Regions from separate parts of the Homo sapiens genome. Here regions 1, 2, 3, 4 and 5 are each linked to region 6. Evidence: promoter capture Hi-C in 16 types of primary human blood cells and fetal thymus (Javierre and others, 2016). All regions are on one chromosome and are shown on one strand. Each heading gives the region's core, a stretch centred on a gene start or on the middle of the fragment in contact. The rest is flanking DNA. Distances are from core to core; before and after follow the strand shown.

Region 1 (2,938 bases), core at 6-2,505, 750 kb after region 6:
GCTGTGCAGGAGACTCCTGCTAGCTCAGGAGGAGGACTTCTTTGGCATACATGAACATAGGCAGTGTAAAAATCCATGGACTTATTAGACGTCTGGTGGCTAGACCAGGGACTGGATATCCTCATCACTTAAATGTCTCTGGGCTAGAGCTAGAAACTCCAAGGAGAGTGCATTGTATTTAAGCAGAAATATTGGGTTTTTCTTGTTAAATAAACACTGTGAATAGACCATCTGACACTCATAGGTTACTCAGAAACCTATTCTGTCTAGAGTAGCAAACTCTGTTCCTTCATCTCAGAGAGATTTTCAGGTAGTTTGTGGGACTGTCAGGAAATTCTTTGGAAAAGCAGTTTTGTGACAGTTGCGCATTTGCTTTCACTGGGCTAGGCCAACTTTATCCATAAACTCTAAAAAGTTGAGGGAGAGTACCTCAGAAAACCATAGGGGAGAGCTTGTTTTGCTCTCAGAAGCTTCCAGTATGGATTGTAGCATGTGTTGTGGCCCCATTTGGGAATCTTCCATGGAAGGAGCAAAGCAGGCATAAACTAATTTGGGTTTTGTTTTTCAGGTGAACATAAGATCCACTTTATTCCGGGAATGATTGGTCCTTTTCTGGGTGTGACACTGGTCCCACAGCCAGAAGTACGGAATATCATGATTCCCATCTTTCATGACATGATGGACTGGGAGCAGAGAAAAAATGGCAACTTCAAACAGGTAAGACACCTGGCAGTGTTCGGGGTATTCTCTGGAATGGATCCCTTCTGCTTAGGCAGGTGGCCTAGATGACCAAGCCATGATTCTAGTGGGGATGGGCTGTAGTTTGGCTAATTTGAATCCTGTTCAAGGGTTTTCCCTTACTTGCTGGCCAAAATTGATTTGTGGATTTTCTCCATGAAGTTAGAGGCCAGAAAATAATGAGGCCAGGAAAGAATGAACATCACTATAACTTTCTGATCAAGGAATGATTGAGACTGTAGCCTCCCAGTTTCAATCATGATAGGGCCCTGGGAGTGTGATGTCATTCCTTTACTGAGGATTTTCACTGTATAATCCAGGCATTTCTAGGGCTGCAGCCCAGACCAGATGACTTCTCATGGCTCAGGGTAGCCCAGCATTTTATAGACTACTGCACAGAGGGGTTGGTCCAGGAGATACAGGCCCCTTGGCTTCCAACTGAATGGCTTCAGGCTGTCCTCCTGTGTAGTTCTTTTGCCACCACTAAGTGTAGGAGATGGCCCCTGCCTTTATATCTGTAGCTCCAGGGGATAGTACCAGGACCAATAGGGGCTAATGATGAGGAAGCCAATTTTAGCTAATCAAATAAATAACTTGCTAACAGCAAAAACTGTCCACTGTAAGCAGGCCTGCTTTGGGAGATAGAGATTTTCTCTCTTGGCAGATGATCTTCAAGCAGAAGCTCCCAGGAAACCTCTAGGGGAATTTTCTGTATTGGCTTGGGAATTGTACCAGTTCCCCACTAAGCTCCTTCCGAGCCTGTGATTCTGGGATGAACCAGTGGTCTATTTAGAATAGGTGACTGTAACAGTGAGAAGTAGACCAGGCAAACAGTAATTTTTAAATATTTATTTATTTTTAAATTTACATAGAGTAAAATGTATTCTTCTTGATTTACAGTTCTATGTGTTTTGGCAAATGCATAGTCGTGTAACCACTACCACAATCAAGAGTTTTTGAATACTTAAAAATTCAGTCTTGCTGTCTATTTGTAGTCAAACCCTTCCCCTGTTCTTAACAAATGCAACCATAGGTCTGCTCTTCATCACTATAGTTGTGCCTTTTCTAGACTGTCATATAAATGGAATCAAGCAAAGTGCAGCCTTTTGAGACTGGCCCCTTTCACTTAGCATAATGCTTTGAGAAATTAATCCATGTCACTGCATGTATCAGTAGCTTTTCTATGCTGAGTAGTATTTAGTTCATTCATTCACCATTTGAAAGACATTTGGGTTATTTCCTCTTTTGTGGATTATAAATAAAGCTACTAAAAACATTTCTTTACAGGTTTTTGTATGCATATAAGCTTTCATTTTTCTTGAGTGAATACTTAGGAATAGGATTGTTGGGCCTTGTGACAAGTGTGTAATTAGCTTTCGAAGAGGTTCTCAAACTCTTTTCTAAAATAGCTATACCATTTTGAAGTCTCAGCAGCAGTATATAATCGATTGCTCCGCATACTAACCAGTACTTAGTATTATCTGTTCGTTTGTTTTAGCCATTCTAATAGGTGTGTAGTTGTATATCATTGTGGTTTTCATTTCTATTTCCCTAGTGACTAATGGTGTTGAGCATCTTTTCATATGCTTATATACCATCTTTATGCTTCTTTGGTAAAATGAGTTCAAAGCTTTTGTTCATTTTCATTTGAGTTGCTGCTTTCCTTATTGTTGAATTGTAGGGTTCTTTATATATTCTGTATGTAAGTCCTTTGTTGAGCATATGATTTACAGATATTTTCTGCAAATCTTTAGCTTATCTTTTCATTTACTAAACAATATCTTTCTTAGAACAAAAGTTTTTAATTTTTATGAAGTCCAGTTTGTCAATGTTTTTCTTTTATAGATCATGCTTTTGGGGTCATACCCCAAGAACTTTTTCTTAACATAGGGCCACAAAAATTTTTCTCCTGTCTTTTCTTCTAGAAGTTTTATAGTTTTACATTTTAAATTTAGATCTATGATCTATTTTGAGTTGATTTCTGTATAAGGTATGAAGGATGGATCAGGTTCTTTTTTTTATTTTGCAACAAGATGTCCAATTATTCCAGCATCTTTTGTTGAAAAGAGTATCCTTTCTTCAGTTGTCTTTCTGCCTTGGTCAAAAACCAATTGCCAAAAAAAAAAAAGAAAAACAAATGGGTTTGGACAAGGAGAAGCTTAAAAAAAAGAAAAAGAAAAAAGACCTTTGAAACTTTGTA
Region 2 (2,967 bases), core at 399-2,898, 820 kb after region 6:
CAGAGCAAAACTTTATCTCAAAAAAAAAAAAAAATTGTTTTAGTTAGCTGGGTGTGGTGGCCCACACCGGTAGACCCAGCTACTAGGGTGGCTGAGAGGGGAGGATCACCACCCAACAGATTGAAGCTGCAGGGAGCCGTGATCATGCCACTGCATTCCAGCCTGGGTGACAGGGAGCCCTATCTCAAAACACAAGTAAGGCCCTACAGAGAGATGATGTTTCAAGGTGTCAGTATGTTTGGAGGAGATGGCTCTCAAGCACCTCCTGAAGGCCATTGTCCTTTATTGCTCCAGTGCTACTATATCGGGGCCACAGATGATGCAGCCACCAAAATCATCAATGAGGTATCAAAGCCTCTGGCCCACCACATCCCTGTGGAGAAGATCTGTGAGAAGCTTAAGAAGAAGGACAGCCAGATATGTGAGCTTAAGTATGGTGAGTATGCCTAGTCCTTTCTTAATGAATGCTGTGCACCTTCTGGGTTTGTTTCCCATCTGGGAGAGGAAAATGATGAGCTAGAGTCATGAGTGGGTTGTATTGTATGACAGATGGTGCTAAATGCTGGAGGGCTCTGGCATGGAAGTGGGTGGAGGTCAGAATAGGCCTTATTGAAGAAGTGATATTTCAGCAAACTTTGAAGGAGGTGAGGATTAGCCAAGAGGCCAGCTAATGGAAGAGGATACAGGCAGGATAAAGGTGTCCAGTGGCATGGCAAGTCAGAGAGCATTGCAGGCTGGTGAGGGCTTTTAATCTGCGTGAAGTTAGGAGCATTAGGAGTTTTTCAGCAGAGAAGGGACATAGTACGACTTGGGTTTAACAGGCTGGTTCTGGCTGCAAGCTCTGAAGCCCCAGTGATTTTTACTATTCTGAAAAGAAACACTATGTCCAAGCATGCAAGCCCAAGAGTTAGGAACTACAGCATCTCTCTTGCTGACTGGGTCTCTGGTGTACATAGTCCCAGTCTTCAGAAACAGTCAGGGCCTCTTCTGAAAAACTTGAATGGCCAAGGACCTGTGTTCACCTACTTGCGTCTTCCTGGTACAGGTCCAGTTGGCTCCAGGTCACTGTGGTCATGGAGAGTAAGTTCCTAACTCAAAGGCCTGAGCAGGGCTGCTCTTTGGCACCAGCCTGGAGTTGTTAGTATGTGGTGACTATGTCAGAGGCACTTGGAAGATGGGAACCATGTTTCTCCTATAAGGACAGTGTGGCCTCTGTCCCTATCCTTGTTCACGCTGCATATCTGTAGTAGACATAATATGTAGCCAGCCTTCCTGGTGAAGAGGCTAGTTCCCTCTTGTGGGGGCAGTAGGCACTGACATGCCTGTAAATGTGTCTGGAAATGTCTCTTCCTCTGAAACCAGTAGGGCTGGTTTGGCCGTTCAGGGAGTGACATACTCTGGGACTACTGGGGGACTGCAGGTGCTCCACCCAGTCAGTGACTCTCCCTGCTCTCTCCTCCAGACAAGCAGATCGACCTGAGCACAGTGGACCTGAAGAAGCTCCGAGTTAAAGAGCTGAAGAAGATTCTGGATGACTGGGGGGAGACATGCAAAGGCTGTGCAGAAAAGTCTGACTACATCCGGAAGATAAATGAACTGATGCCTAAATATGCCCCCAAGGCAGCCAGTGCACGGACCGATTTGTAGTCTGCTCAATCTCTGTTGCACCTGAGGGGGAAAAAACAGTTCAACTGCTTACTCCCAAAACAGCCTTTTTGTAATTTATTTTTTAAGTGGGCTCCTGACAATACTGTATCAGATGTGAAGCCTGGAGCTTTCCTGATGATGCTGGCCCTACAGTACCCCCATGAGGGGATTCCCTTCCTTCTGTTGCTGGTGTACTCTAGGACTTCAAAGTGTGTCTGGGATTTTTTTATTAAAGAAAAAAAATTTCTAGCTGTCCTTGCAGAATTATAGTGAATACCAAAATGGGGTTTTGCCCCAGGAGGCTCCTACCAGTTTCTGCTTTCCAGTTGCAGAGTTTGGGGGGTTATTCATTCCCATTTATCTCTCAACCCACCAGTGCTGAAAATACCAGAGCAGGACATAGGGGCTGGGGCCAGCTGATGTGTGTGGGTGTGTACCACTAGAGGGCAGCAGGCACTCAGCAGAAAGGAGGTGGCGGGGGCGGGGGGTGCTGCGCTTGATACCCTGCCCCTTGATACAGTATCTGTCTTACCCGCCCAAGAGAGCTGGAGGCCACAGCTCTAGGAGGAGTGAGTCTGGGATACATTGGAGGGCCTTATATTGTGGCTCAGTACAAGCAAGACAGGGTGTCTGGAGTGTGGTTTTTCCACAAGGATATCTTCAATCAGTGCACGTCAGCACTGACATCTCTATAAAGATGCTGTTGGCCTGGCCACCTACTTGCTCTTTTGTCCATTCCAAGCCTCTGATGTCTGTTCCAGTTTTTGCAAGTCTGGCAGGAGTCAGCTTATACAAAGAGGGAGTGGGAAGCTGCCTTTTGCCTTTGTTTACCCTAGATTAGTCTAACAGTTGAGGTCCAGGGTTTTGCTGGAGTCTGCTTCTTAAGCCACTCTCTGTGGCACTGGTGCTTAGGAAACCCAGTTGTTAGTGTGAGCTGTGGCTCAATGAAGACACCTGTAGAAACCACCTGAAAGGACGGACTAAGAACCAGTGCTTTCCAAGTAATTGGTCTTGCCTCAGATCACTTCACTTGTGTCTCCTAAGCTCAGTTTGCCTGTAGGAGGCCTTGCTGCTGTGGAACCCATTGCTTTCTTCCAAGACCTTTCCCCCTGCACCTGCCTGAGCTACTCCAGGAGCTGCTTTCTCTTTGTGCGAAGAGGGCATGACTTGGTCTGCTCTTCCCCATCGCAAGGATTCTGTGCCAGAAATTGGGTCAGGTTCTACCATGGCTCCAGCAACTGTCCTTGGAGAATGAAAGCTTCCTCAATGGGCTTGAGCACCTGGGCACCCTTTCCCTCACCTCACCTGGGGAGAAGAGGT
Region 3 (2,707 bases), core at 127-2,626, 800 kb after region 6:
GCCTCCACCTCTGGGGGCAGGGCATAGCTGAACAAAAGGCAGCAGAAACTTCTGCAGACTTAAACGTCCCTGTCTGACAGCTTTGAAGAGAGTAGTGGTTCTCCCAGCATGGAGTTTAAGATCTGAGAACGGACAGACTGCCTCCTCAAGTGGGTCCCTGAACCCTCAGGAGCCTAACTGGGAGGCACCTCCCAGTAGGGGGCGACTGACACCTCATATGGCAGGGTGCCCCTCTGAGACAAAGCTTCCAGAGTGAAGGATCAGAAAGCAACATTTGCTGTTCTGCAGCGTCCACTGTTGATACCCAGGCAAACAGGGTCTGGAGTGGACCTCCATCAAACTCCAACAGACCTGCAGCTGAGGGTCCTGACTGTTAGAAGGAAAACTAACAAACAGAAAGGACATGCACACAAAAACCCCATCTGTACGTCACCATTATCAAAGACCAAAGGTAGATAAAACCACAAAGATGGGGAGAAACCAAAGCAGAAAAGCTGAAAATTCTAAAAATCAGAGCACTTCTCCTCCAAAGGAACGCAGCTCCTCGCCAGCAATGGAACAAAGCTGGATGGAGAATGACTTTGACAAGTTGAGAGAAGAAGGCTTCAGATGATCGGTAATGACAAACTTATCCGAGCTAAAGGAGGATGTTTGAACCCATTGCAAAGAAGCTAAAAACCTTGAAAAAAGAGTAGATGAATGGCTAACTAGAATAAACAGTGTAGAGAAGTCCTTAAATGACCTGATGGAGCTGAAAACCATGGCATGAGAGTGACGTGATGCATGCACAAGCTTCAGTAGCCGATTCGATCAACTGGAAGAAAGGGTATCAGTGATTGAAGATCAAATGAATGAAAATGAAGCGAAAAGAGAAGTTTAGAGAAAAAAGAGTAAAAAGAAATGAACAAAGCCCCCAAGAAATATGGGACTATGTGAAAATCTACGTCTGATTGGTGTAATAGCACAAATGTATGACTTGGGAAGTCATTAAGAAAAGAAGCTCTCTAAAGCACACAAACCCATGAAGCCCACAGTAGGAGTGATGGAGAGAAGCCCACAGTAGGAGTGATGGAGAGAAGCCCACAGTAGGAGTGACTGCTGTATGGCACAGTGAAAAGATGCAGTGACCACCTGGGAAAAGCCTTGGCAGATTGTAGAGGGAAGTGGAGTAAGGTTGCAGCAGGCACAGTCAGACTTCACCTGAAGTATTCAGACCAAGCCCTCATTTCCAGGGCAAGGGAATTAAGGCCACCTAGCCAGTTCACAGCCAAGCTAAGTTTGGGGCACAGATCTTTACACTCACCAGCCCTCACTCTCATGCCCATTCCACTGCCCATATTGCCTCCCTAGCATGGACTCTGAGGTCAGAAAAGGGGAGCCAGCATTTGAAAGCAGACATTTCTAGTACTAAATAGGACAAATGAACCAAAAGATCGGTGCATGCTGAAGATTTGTCAGTATGTGAAAGCTGCAGACATAGAGAAGGAGCAGTGATATGTGTTATCAAGAAGGCACACTGAAAGACGGCCTTGGGAATAAAAAGAAAAGAAACCCTGAGCCATGAGTGCCACAGTCAAGGTTGGCATTTATAGTGTCTTCAGGTAAATAGTCCTGAATAGAGCTGCAGAAACAGTTTCTGTAATCCCTTCTGGTTTTGTTTTTTTCCCTAACCTAAAGCGTCTCTAAGATATGTTCTGACATATCTAAGACTTTATCTGGTATTCTTGCTGAGGACAGATCTCTGAATCATGATGATTGATAAACACAGAAGGCAACCAAGGATGGACATTTGAACTCAAATGCACTCTGACATTGGTCAGACACTTCCTCTAGGCTGTTCCAGATACTTAGTGTCCTGAAAAGAAGAAAGAGGAGGAATAAGCAGGCCCTGCTCTTGGGGACCTCACAGGCTGGCGGTTACCACCTTTTCCTTCCAGCCGTTGACTGATTTATTCACTTATCAAGCTTTTACTGAATGCTCAGTGAGGAACCTGCATGGCTCTTGCCACGGGGGCAGGTGGTGCACTATGTCAGTGCTGAATAGAGAGAAATTATCTTCTTGTCTGGAAATAACTCATTTTTACTTCAAATGGCTTGGTTATCTGTTGCTGCATAATAAGCCACCCCCAAAACTTCTTAAAACAATCTATTATCATCTCTTATTCTGTGGGTTTACAGGGCTCACTGAGCAATTCTCACTTGGTGTCAGATGTCACTGGCTGGAATCATCTAAAAGCTCAGGTGGGCTAGATATTCGAGATGGCTCACATACATGGCTGGCAATTGATGCTGGTGGTCAGCTTGGGGTGCGACTGGGGCTGTCAACTTGAGCTCCTACATATGACCTTTCCATGTGACTTAGGCTTCTCACAGCATGGCAGCTGATTTTCCCCAGAGAAAGCATTCCAAGAGACCCAGGAAGAAGCCTCAAGGCTCGTTTTTACCCAGCCTTGGATGTCCCAGGAAGTCCCCACGTTTCTAGTCTCCTCAAGTCACTAATGTCAACCCAGATACCAGAAAGAGGAATGAGATTACACCTCATGTTGTAAGGAATGGTGTGTGTGTTTTGGGACAGAAGGTGTTGATGGTCACCATTTTTGGAGATGAGCTGTCACAATGGCCAAACTCCAGAATATCACACAGAGGAAGGCTGAGAGAAGCCCCTTCCCTTTTGGGGGTAAACATTAAGTGCAAAAATAAACAAAAT
Region 4 (3,093 bases), core at 582-3,081, 840 kb after region 6:
CCCTGAGACCCTGTTACCACAGACACTTTTCTCATCCCCACCTCACCACCACCTTCACACTGGCTTCTCACTTTCTATGCCAAGAGGTTCAGTTCTCCCAAACCTAATAAGCTCTCCATCTACATAGGCTTCAGATGCCTTTTACCTACACTTTGGCTGGGCGCAGTGGCTCACACCTGTAATCCCAGCACTTTGGGAGGCCAAGGCGGGTGGATCACCTGAGGTCAGGAGTTCGAGACCAGCCTGGGCAACAGGGTGAAACCTCGTCTCTACTAAAATACAAAATTAGTCGGGTGTGGTGGCACATGCCTTTAGTCCCAGCTACTTGGGAGGCTGAGACAGAAGAATTGCTTGAACCTAGGAGGCGGAAGCCTGGGCGAGACAGAGTGAGACTCCATCTCAAAAAAAAAAAAAAAAAAAAACAACAACAAAACCGTCATTCAAATCTGATCCTGACCTTTATGTAACATGTCATATTTTGCTAAATGTATAAATGCCTACTTTTTAAAAAATACTTTTTCTGTCCTTAAAGGCTATAGGTTCACTTTAGGGTCATAAATGTTTGTTTTTCTTTCCTCAATGGCAGAATCTAACTCAAGTTACATTTCAATTCTTTAAGAAAATGAGGCCTTTCAGGAATCAACACATTCAGCTCTGACCAGGTGTGTGTAATCAGTAAAGACTCTTAACATCCGCTTCTAGGCAGTGGAGAACACACAGGAAGCACAGCACACAGTGTGTCCCAGACTCCAAAATGGAGTGGAAAACAGAGAGCATTATTCCTTTGTTGAGTTTTTTATTATAAATTTAAGGTTAAGTATAATTAGCTAAAATGTATTGGCTTGTCAAAATCTAGGAGCAATGATCAATTACTTATCTTGGGTTTTGTAACTTTTCTAAAAGTCAAATCAAAGATGAATGAACTGATTTCTAAAAACACAGGCACCAGGTTGGGCGCGGTGGCTCATGCCTATAATCCCAGCACTTTGGGAGGCCGAGGTGGGCGGATCACCTGAGGTCAGGAGTTCGAGATCAGCCTGGCTAACATGGTGAAACCCCATCTCTACTAAAAATACAGAATTGGCCGGTTGTGGTGGCAGGCGCCTACAATCCCAGCTACTCAGGGAGGCTGAGGCAGATTTGCCTGAACCTGGGAGGTGGAGGTTGCAGTGAGCCAAGATCGCAACACTGCGCTCCAGCCTGGGTGACAGGGCGAGACTCCATCTCAAAAAAAAAAAAAAAAAAAAAAAAACAACCAGATACCAAACTTCTAATGGATAATAATGAGCTGTGATAGGTGACTAGCTTATCTCTGCTTTCATCAAATGCCTGAAGGCAGGCAGACTAGCAGCCTCAGGAACCAAATATTTATGGGTGTCCAATACATTGTTTAGGTTTTCATTCATCTAGATACAGCTAGCTGTACCTTTCATCCTTTCCTCTTAATCTCCAAGCTTATTTAAGCATAAGGACAAAGGACAAATATTTTATGGCATGTCAATTATATCTCGATAAAGCTCTTTATGCTGGACCATTTTATTAGATGACGGCTGACCATTCAGGCTTCTGAATTTATTTTGCTATAATGAAAAGGCAAATTCAAAGGTGTTGGTCACAGGTGCCTGTATCCCTGAGCCACATAAGTCATATCTGGAACATCTGAGAAGACCTGAGAACAGATATCTAGACTAGGACAAAACTTTGAATAGCAAATGATTCATAGGAAAATGAAAAGTCTCTAGTTTTAAAATCAGGTGAAGCGTACAAAGCAAAGTAAAACTAGAGACTGGTTTTCCTACAAAGGAAAGTGAGTTTAAAAAAAATTCAAGCTGGCACACTGTGCATGAGAGGCAGTAGGCAGAAATCTGATGGAGATAGTAAAAACAGCCAAACTCCACCACAAGATTCTAGAAGGAGCATGGATCAACAGAATTAAGGTTACAAAAGAGACCTACTCAAATAGATACGGTATTATCCCGTATCTCTAAATCAAACATCTCTAAATCAAAAATCAAAATGCCAAGGGCTTGAGGGGATAAGCAGTTCTCTAACAGAGGTCCTTCAAACATGAAATGCACCAGATGATCAATAAAAGCTGTAATATCAGTATGGAGTGAAACATGCCTAGATCCTAAGAAATCTGGAAGCCACAGTAATAACTTAGCCATGTTGCACACCTACCCTGCCACCTAGTCTTCTCTGAGCTAGAAAGCTTTCCGGCTCTTCTACAGGCTGGGCTCCAGAGCCACTCCTTAGAGCCCTCTTGACCCTGCCCCTCTCACTCTTGGCTGTCACGCTGAGGCAGCCTCTTGCTTTCCTTCCTGCATCCAAGTCAAAAGTCCTGACCACTACCATATGCCCTTCCTAATCTCTTTCTCCCTTAACTTCTCAGAAGTTAAGCAGGACAAAAGAAGAAGAATTAGTCAGTCTTTTCCCTGACCCAAGCCTTCCTGGAGAGAGTGGGATAAGAGGAGTATAACTCTTAAATTATTCCCTTATGGTGGCCTCTCGCTTCCACAGCCAGCCACCAACCTCCAGTGCCTTTGCCTCTCACCACTCCATGTCTGCAAGAATAAGGCGAACCCAGAGAATAGCCTTCCAACTCCCAAGGTGTCTAGGGCAATCTCAACTTTCCTCTGAGTTGACCTCCCCCTCAAAGACAGACACCAGGCATCACATGGACCCAGGTGATGGTTCCCAGAGAAGACTGCCGCCCACTGCCTTATTAAATGCACGGATATGGGAGGGCTGGGATAATGATGTTGACAAACAATCCAGTTTTGGCCTCAGATTTATGCTTCAACATGTAACATCCAAGAAGCCTGATTCAGAACTGATACTTGGTAGTGATGAATAAACCCACGGAGGACAAAGCAGTCGACAGCCACCCATACCATTGTAATGTACGCGCAAATGGCCTGACAACTGCACCCTCTGTATGGACTCAAGAATAAACTACATCTTGTTTCATGATAGCTAATGTGAAAAAGTAGGCATTAAGGGAGTGAGGTGTCTAAGGTAGCAAACTGAAGTGAGAATAAAAGAACAGGCAGTATTAAGAAACCCACTCAAGGCAACCACATGAAATTTGGA
Region 5 (2,992 bases), core at 261-2,760, 870 kb after region 6:
CTGGAGTACAATGGCACGATCTCTGCTCACTGCAACGTCCACCTCCCGAGTTCAAGCGATTCTCCCACCTCAGCCTCCTGAGTAGCTAGGATTACAGGTACCTGCCATCATGCCCAGCTAATTCTGTCTGCTATTTCATTACTCATTTTCTGGTTTCTATTTTGTTAATCCTAGGTAATTTTACATTATACAATATGTACATAGTTTAAAAAATTTTTTTGTGGCCAGGCGTGATGGCTCACTCCTGTAATCCCTACATTCTGGGGGGCTGAGGCGAGTGGTTCACTTGAGGTCAGGAGTTTGAGACCAGCCTGGCCAACATGGTGAAACCCTATCTCTACTAAAAATACAAAAAATTAGCCAGGCATGGTGGCAGGCACCTGTAATCCCAGCTACTCAGGAGGCTGAGGCAGGAGAATTGCTTGACCCAGGAAGCGGAGGTTCCAGTGAGCAGAAATCACACCACTGCACTCCAGCCTGGGCAACAGAGCGAGACTCCATCTCAAAAAAGAAAAAAAGAAAAAATTGTTGTTAGCTGATACAGGTAATATCTAAAAAGTAGGGCATAAGCAAGCACTATTTCATAGTTTTTCCTCTCCTATTCAGCAACAACTGAGGCCACCCCATGTCTAGATTCACTTTTTATCTCAACGTTCAGCCTTTTAGATTAACACCTAAGTTTCTGTAGAGATAGTAAGCCTCCTCTCTTCTATCTAAACAAGAATGTTTTGATTGTTACTATTCTGATGCATCTGGCTATAGAAATAACTTGAGCAATAAAATGCAGAGAAATTACATGCTAAAACACACAGGCACATCTCTGTCAATAAAATGCTCAGTGACACAGGGTATGGTGGCTCATACCTATAATCCTAGTACTTTGGGAGGCCAAAGCAGAAGGATTGCTTCAGTCCAGTTTAAGACCAGCCTGGGCAACATAGCAAGACTATCTCTATAAAAATTTTTTTTAAATTAGCTAAGCATGGTGGCATGCACTTGTCTCAGCTACTCAGGAGGCTGAGGTAGGATTGCTTGGGCCTAGGAGTTCAAAGCCACAGTGAGCTATGATCACCCCATTGCACTCCAGCCTGGGTGACAGAGTGAGACCTATCTCTAAAAATAAATAAGTAAAGCTTCACCAGGCGCAGTGGCTCACGCCTGTAATCCCAGCACTGTGGGAGGCCAAGGCGGGCAGATCACTTGAGGTCAGGAGTTTGAGTCCAGCCTGGCTAACATGGTGAAACCCCATCTCTACTAAAAATATAAAAATCAGCCATGCACGGTAGCATGTGACAGTAATCCCAGCTACTCGGGAGGCTGAGGCAGGAGAATCACTTGAACCCAGGAGGCGGAGGTTGCAGTGAGCCAAGATCGCACCACTGCACTCCAGCCTGGGCGACAGAGTGAGACTCCATCTTAAATTTAAAAAAAAACAAAGTTTTTAAAAAATCCCCGGTGACCCAATATTTTTAAGAACTTTACCTTTAGTGCCTCAAATGTAAGCAGGACATCATTAGTTTGCTTCAGGTCAATATAGAACATCATCAGCTCCCGTGATCCAAGTTGCATGAATATGGGAAGTAGCTGAAATGAACACCAAATACAAGTCTTAAATTTTGGCTTTATTGTCATGTATTTCCTATTCCACTCTTTGAGGATAGAAGCCTAAAGAAATGATGCACCTCTTCCTCCCTCCCTGTGAAGATAAACGTGTAAATGCACTTTAATCAAATAGACCATATCAGGAATGACCTGCATAAGACTTGAACAGTTTCATGCAAACCCTTGTTTGTGGTAGAGTTAGAATATATCTTTGTATAAAATACTACCATAAAATACCACAGAAATGAACACAATAATTCCTATGTGTGAACAGTACTCTTCCCAATAAGCTTACCTCCTGATATTCTCCTAGAGGGGTCAAATATTGGAGAATGAGTCGCTGCTCGATAGCAGGAGTCATAGGATAAAGGGTATAATTGGTGCCAATCACCCAGGGAGACATTTCTGACCAACTGCTATTAGACAGCTCAACAAACATGCGATCTGGATCAGAAGATGAGAAACCCAACTTTTGCTTGGCTTTCCTAAAGTTCTCTCTGTCACCCTGTTTTGCTGACTTGTTTTTCTTTAATCCTCCATCCTCAGGTTTGGTTGTTGAGTTCACTCTGCTACTAGTCTTGTGGCCTGAATCAAGATGAAAGGAGATCTCCATGTCTCCAGAAGCTTCCTCTTGGTCTCCATCCACTACATCTACAGCCATGTCACCATAGTCCATATCCACAGCCTCCTCATCCAGAGGCAAAAGGGGTTCAGAAGAGAGCTTCCGTGGACTGGGACGCTTGTTTTCCTGCCGCAAAGCCACTTCCTGTAGCTGTAGCTCCCTCAGTCTTCGAAGCACTATTGCCACCTATCAACAGATAATTGGAGAAAAAGGGGGTGCCTCTTTATTAAGGATTAAGTAATCCTTAATAATTCTTATTTCCACATAATAACTGGAGACTCATGCAGTGAGCCCAACGCCTGTAATAGCAACAATTTGATAAATGCGTTGCTTTGATTCCTATAAGTTGATGAAATAAGTAACAGCTAAGTATTGTTCCTCATAAAATTTTCCAGAGAATCCAAACCAGAAGATTTGCACATAAAATACATCATTGACAACTGATCTGTTTGGGTCAAGTTGACCTGGACCATCACACCTGAAGAGGCAGAAATTAGATATATTCATGATTTTTCTAATGTGTCTTTGAAAACCAAACATGAAAGTTTCTCAAACTTTTATCTACTGTAGGTTGTATTCCATTAGATATTGCCATGTATATTATACATAACTACATTATCATTTTTCAAGTTCTTTTTTAAGTACATACTTTTTGGGCCAACGCTATAAAGTGGTACTGTGTTTCATTTTAAAGAGAGAGGGATGGCCAGGTGCGGTAGCTCACGCCTGTAATCCCAGTAATTTGGGAGGCCAAGATGGACGAATCAC
Region 6 (2,887 bases), core at 335-2,834:
CTCAACCTGCGTCCCCATATCCCCCACCTCCCCATATCCACCTCCTCATTCCCTGCCTCCCACATCCCTCATCCTGCTTGGGGGAAAAAATACCACAGCTTTTTCCTTTCCTGGAGGGAAACACTTGCCCAAGAGTCAGACAGGCCTGTCTTTGAAACCTAGCTCAGCTGCTTAACTAGTGATCCCTAGAAAGTCACTCCACCTCTCTGTGTCTCCGTTTTCCTGAGTCTAAGGTGGGGATATTGAGAACATCCCCACAGGGTCATGGGGTTACAGAAATGGCAGAACAAACAGGTGTCGAAGAAAGACTTAGCTCAGCACAACCCCCATCCACAGTAAGCATCCACTACATGTTAGATTTTCTCCCCATGGCCAACCCAGTCACAAAGGGGAGCCAAGGGAGCCCCTGGACCCAGTCCACTGTATGGTCCAGACTATGCTTGGAGTGTGGGTGGAGGCTGATGTGGAAAGACCAGAAGACAAGAAGGAGAGAGAGGCTCTGGTTCTCTGGCGGGGCTTCTCCGCAGGCTCTCGGGGACATTGGACTGCCCTCCCCACCCACCAACAATAGAGGGGCTGCTAGGGTCAAGGAGAAAGGCGAGGCAGGAATGGAGCTCCCAGTGTGGGTGCCTTCTCTTCCTTTACCCTCCTCCCCTGGAAGCAGAGGGTGAGAGATTTGCCCAGTGCAGAGGGCCCTGGTTAAGGTGGGGTGGGAAGAGGTGCCAGCCAAGCTGCAGATGGGACGGCCTAGGGAGAGGAGGGATACCTAGCTCGTGGGTGCATACATCCCCCTGTGCTGGTTCATGGGCATTAGTGGGGTTGCCTCCCTGTGCAGATGCATGGGCGTGTGTGAGATGTGTAAACACCTCTGATGGTCCCTGAGGAAGGGGCAAGGCTGGCAGAGGGTTATGGGGTAGAAAGGCTCATCCCTCTTTGCCTTCTCCCTCCAGCTAGGCTGGGCACATCTGGGCACATAGGAAGTCCCGGGTTCTTTTCTTGGCTTTGCAACTGATCCCGGGCGTGACCTTGGGCCAAACCCTTAACTCGTGCCCTGGGGCTCTGTTAACATCGCCTCCCAAAGGAGAGAAGAGGCCCTACTGACCACTTTCCAGGCCTGCCTCAGGGTCCAAAGGGGAAGGGAAGGAAACCGGGGTAAAAGGGGTCGGCACCGCGACCTTCGAGAACCCGCATGCTGTTCTCCACCAGGTCTCTCAGTCCTCCCTGCCCCAATCCCCATGCCCGCCTCCGCGACCCTGTGATGCCTCCCTTCTTGCACAGGAGCAGTGACCTCAGCACTTACTTAATCCTCTCCCGGCGCCGAGCTCAGTTGGAGAGGCTAGGGGTGGTAGTGACTGGCAGGAGGCCGGGGCGGGGGGAACCCCCAAGCCCGGCGTCTGGGGCTGCGGGTCCGACCCGAGATCCGCCCTCCCTGCAAGCCCCGAGCCGCTGGCCAGGCCCGCTACTGCGCACCAGCCGCATCCGCGAGCGCTGGCTCTGCCGGCCTGAGCTAGGGTGGGTAGGGCCGGGACCCACGGCGGAGGTGGGGCCGGGCCGAGCAGCCTCGGGGGATCCCCGAAGCTACAGCGCCTTGCCTCCCTGCACGCTCCGCGCCCCCGGCCTCCGATTGGCTGTCGGGCCTAGAGCCCGCCCAGAATTGGACCGTTCGCTTGTCGCTCGGGTCTGGCTCCACCCCCAGAGGGAGCCTAGAACCTGGTCGCAGTTTTTAGAGACTACCCTCACCCCGTGGCCTGCGCCGAAGTTGGGCGGAGGACAGTGGGTGGCCAGGCCCTTCCGGGCCAGAACTCGGGACCCCTGCCAGCTACCCGTGCCAGGACAGACTCAAGCCCCCAAAACGCGGATGGATGTACAGAGGAGACTTGGGGAGAGCACTGGACTGGGAGTCCTTGGGCCTGCACTGAACTCTGGCTGACTTTGTGACCTTGAAGAAACTGCTTTTCCCTTCCTGAACCTTGGCTTTCTACTCAGACGGGTCCTCTGGTGTGAGGGTTCTAGACGAAGATGGGGAATCTTCGTCTACAGAAGTTGAGAGTGGGGTGGATTTATTATTGGGCACCCCGACCCAGGCAAGTCTACATATACCCTCACAATAGCTTCCATCCACGGCATGATCAGCTCAGGGAAGGAGCCCTCAGATACTCCTGATCCGCCGGTTTTCAAAGTAGTTTATGGGAGTCACCGGGTAGCCTGGTACAAATGCAAACGCCCCTGTGTCTCCCGGTCTGGGAAGGAGGCAGGGAAACAGCATGTTTAATAGCAGTTTAAGGCCGGGCGTGGTGGCTCACTCCTGTAATCCCAGCACTTTGAGAGGCCGAGGCGATGGATCACCTGAAGTCAGGAGTTCGAGACCAGCCTGACCAACATGGTGAAACCCTGTCTCTATTAAAAATACAGAATTAGCCGGTCGTGTTGGCTCACGCCTGTAATCCCAGCTACTTGGGAGGCTGAGGCAGGAGAATGGCTTGAACCCGGAGGCCGAGGTTGCAGTGAGCAGAGATCGCGCCATTGTACTTCAGCCTGCGCAACAAGAGCAAAACTCCGTCTCAAAAAAAAAAAAAAAAAAAAAGAAAAAAAGAAAAAAAAAGTAGTTAACAGTGTTCTAGTTAACAGTACTTTCTGGTGGGGAGATGTTGACAAGACACACTTTGCGAGACGCTGCCGAGTATTTTATAGAAGGCGCAACTGAGGTCCAGAGGTCCCAACACCTGGAGGAGTTGCCAATAGAGTCAAGATTCGAATCGGTAAAAGAGCGGCCCCTGGGGTCTGGCCGCCAGTCGGCCGACCCCCTGGTGGGCTCGGGCCACTGACCTCGGTAGGGTCACGACACTGGGACTGGACCCCAAAGTTGGACCAGCCTTCAACACTGGAA

What was found. Contacts are between HindIII fragments. The CHiCAGO score rates a contact against its expected background, and 5 or more counts as called.
Region 1: a fragment that was not itself captured here is called in contact with the fragment with the promoter of C3orf18 in region 6 in 4 of 17 cell types (total B cells, total CD4 T cells, endothelial precursors and 1 more); the score reaches 6.8 in total B cells.
Region 2: a contact is called between a fragment that was not itself captured here and the fragment with the promoter of C3orf18 in region 6, in 15 of 17 cell types (erythroblasts, total CD4 T cells, endothelial precursors and 12 more). The highest score is 20.0, in erythroblasts.
Region 3: a fragment that was not itself captured here is called in contact with the fragment with the promoter of C3orf18 in region 6 in 14 of 17 cell types (naive CD4 T cells, total B cells, naive B cells and 11 more); the score reaches 14.1 in naive CD4 T cells.
Region 4: a fragment that was not itself captured here is called in contact with the fragment with the promoter of C3orf18 in region 6 in 6 of 17 cell types (M1 macrophages, megakaryocytes, total B cells and 3 more); the score reaches 5.5 in M1 macrophages.
Region 5: a fragment that was not itself captured here is called in contact with the fragment with the promoter of C3orf18 in region 6 in 1 of 17 cell types (total CD8 T cells); the score reaches 5.4 in total CD8 T cells.

Annotation. Positions count from the first base shown.
Region 1 is chr3:51,314,412-51,317,349 of GRCh38, forward strand. DOCK3 (dedicator of cytokinesis 3) reads left to right here. Exons shown (of 53, transcript NM_004947.5): 32 at 569-717. Among named protein-coding and RNA genes, the nearest start is that of MANF, 69 kb to the right of the region's middle. The HindIII fragment of the contact is 1,574 bases long and covers 469-2,042 here.
Region 2 is chr3:51,387,443-51,390,409 of GRCh38, forward strand. It overlaps MANF (mesencephalic astrocyte derived neurotrophic factor), which reads left to right. Exons shown (of 4, transcript NM_006010.6): 3 at 295-436; 4 at 1,463-1,955. The coding sequence ends at 1,647. Among named protein-coding and RNA genes, the nearest start is that of RBM15B, 2.4 kb to the right of the region's middle. The HindIII fragment of the contact is 2,509 bases long and covers 395-2,903 here.
Region 3 is chr3:51,368,612-51,371,318 of GRCh38, forward strand. The region is part of intron 49 of DOCK3 (dedicator of cytokinesis 3); the gene reads left to right. Among named protein-coding and RNA genes, the nearest start is that of MANF, 15 kb to the right of the region's middle. The HindIII fragment of the contact is 1,173 bases long and covers 791-1,963 here.
Region 4 is chr3:51,406,758-51,409,850 of GRCh38, forward strand. The region is part of intron 23 of DCAF1 (DDB1 and CUL4 associated factor 1); the gene reads right to left. Among named protein-coding and RNA genes, the nearest start is that of RBM15B, 17 kb to the left of the region's middle. The HindIII fragment of the contact is 758 bases long and covers 1,453-2,210 here.
Region 5 is chr3:51,439,488-51,442,479 of GRCh38, forward strand. It overlaps DCAF1 (DDB1 and CUL4 associated factor 1), which reads right to left. Exons shown (of 25, transcript NM_001387579.1): 8 at 1,898-2,410; 9 at 1,483-1,584. Among named protein-coding and RNA genes, the nearest start is that of RBM15B, 50 kb to the left of the region's middle. The HindIII fragment of the contact is 759 bases long and covers 1,132-1,890 here.
Region 6 is chr3:50,566,163-50,569,049 of GRCh38, forward strand. It overlaps C3orf18 (chromosome 3 open reading frame 18), which reads right to left and starts at 1,585. Exons shown (of 6, transcript NM_016210.5): 1 at 1,301-1,585. RefSeq lists a silencer at 1,217-1,726. The HindIII fragment of the contact is 20,682 bases long and covers 1-2,887 here.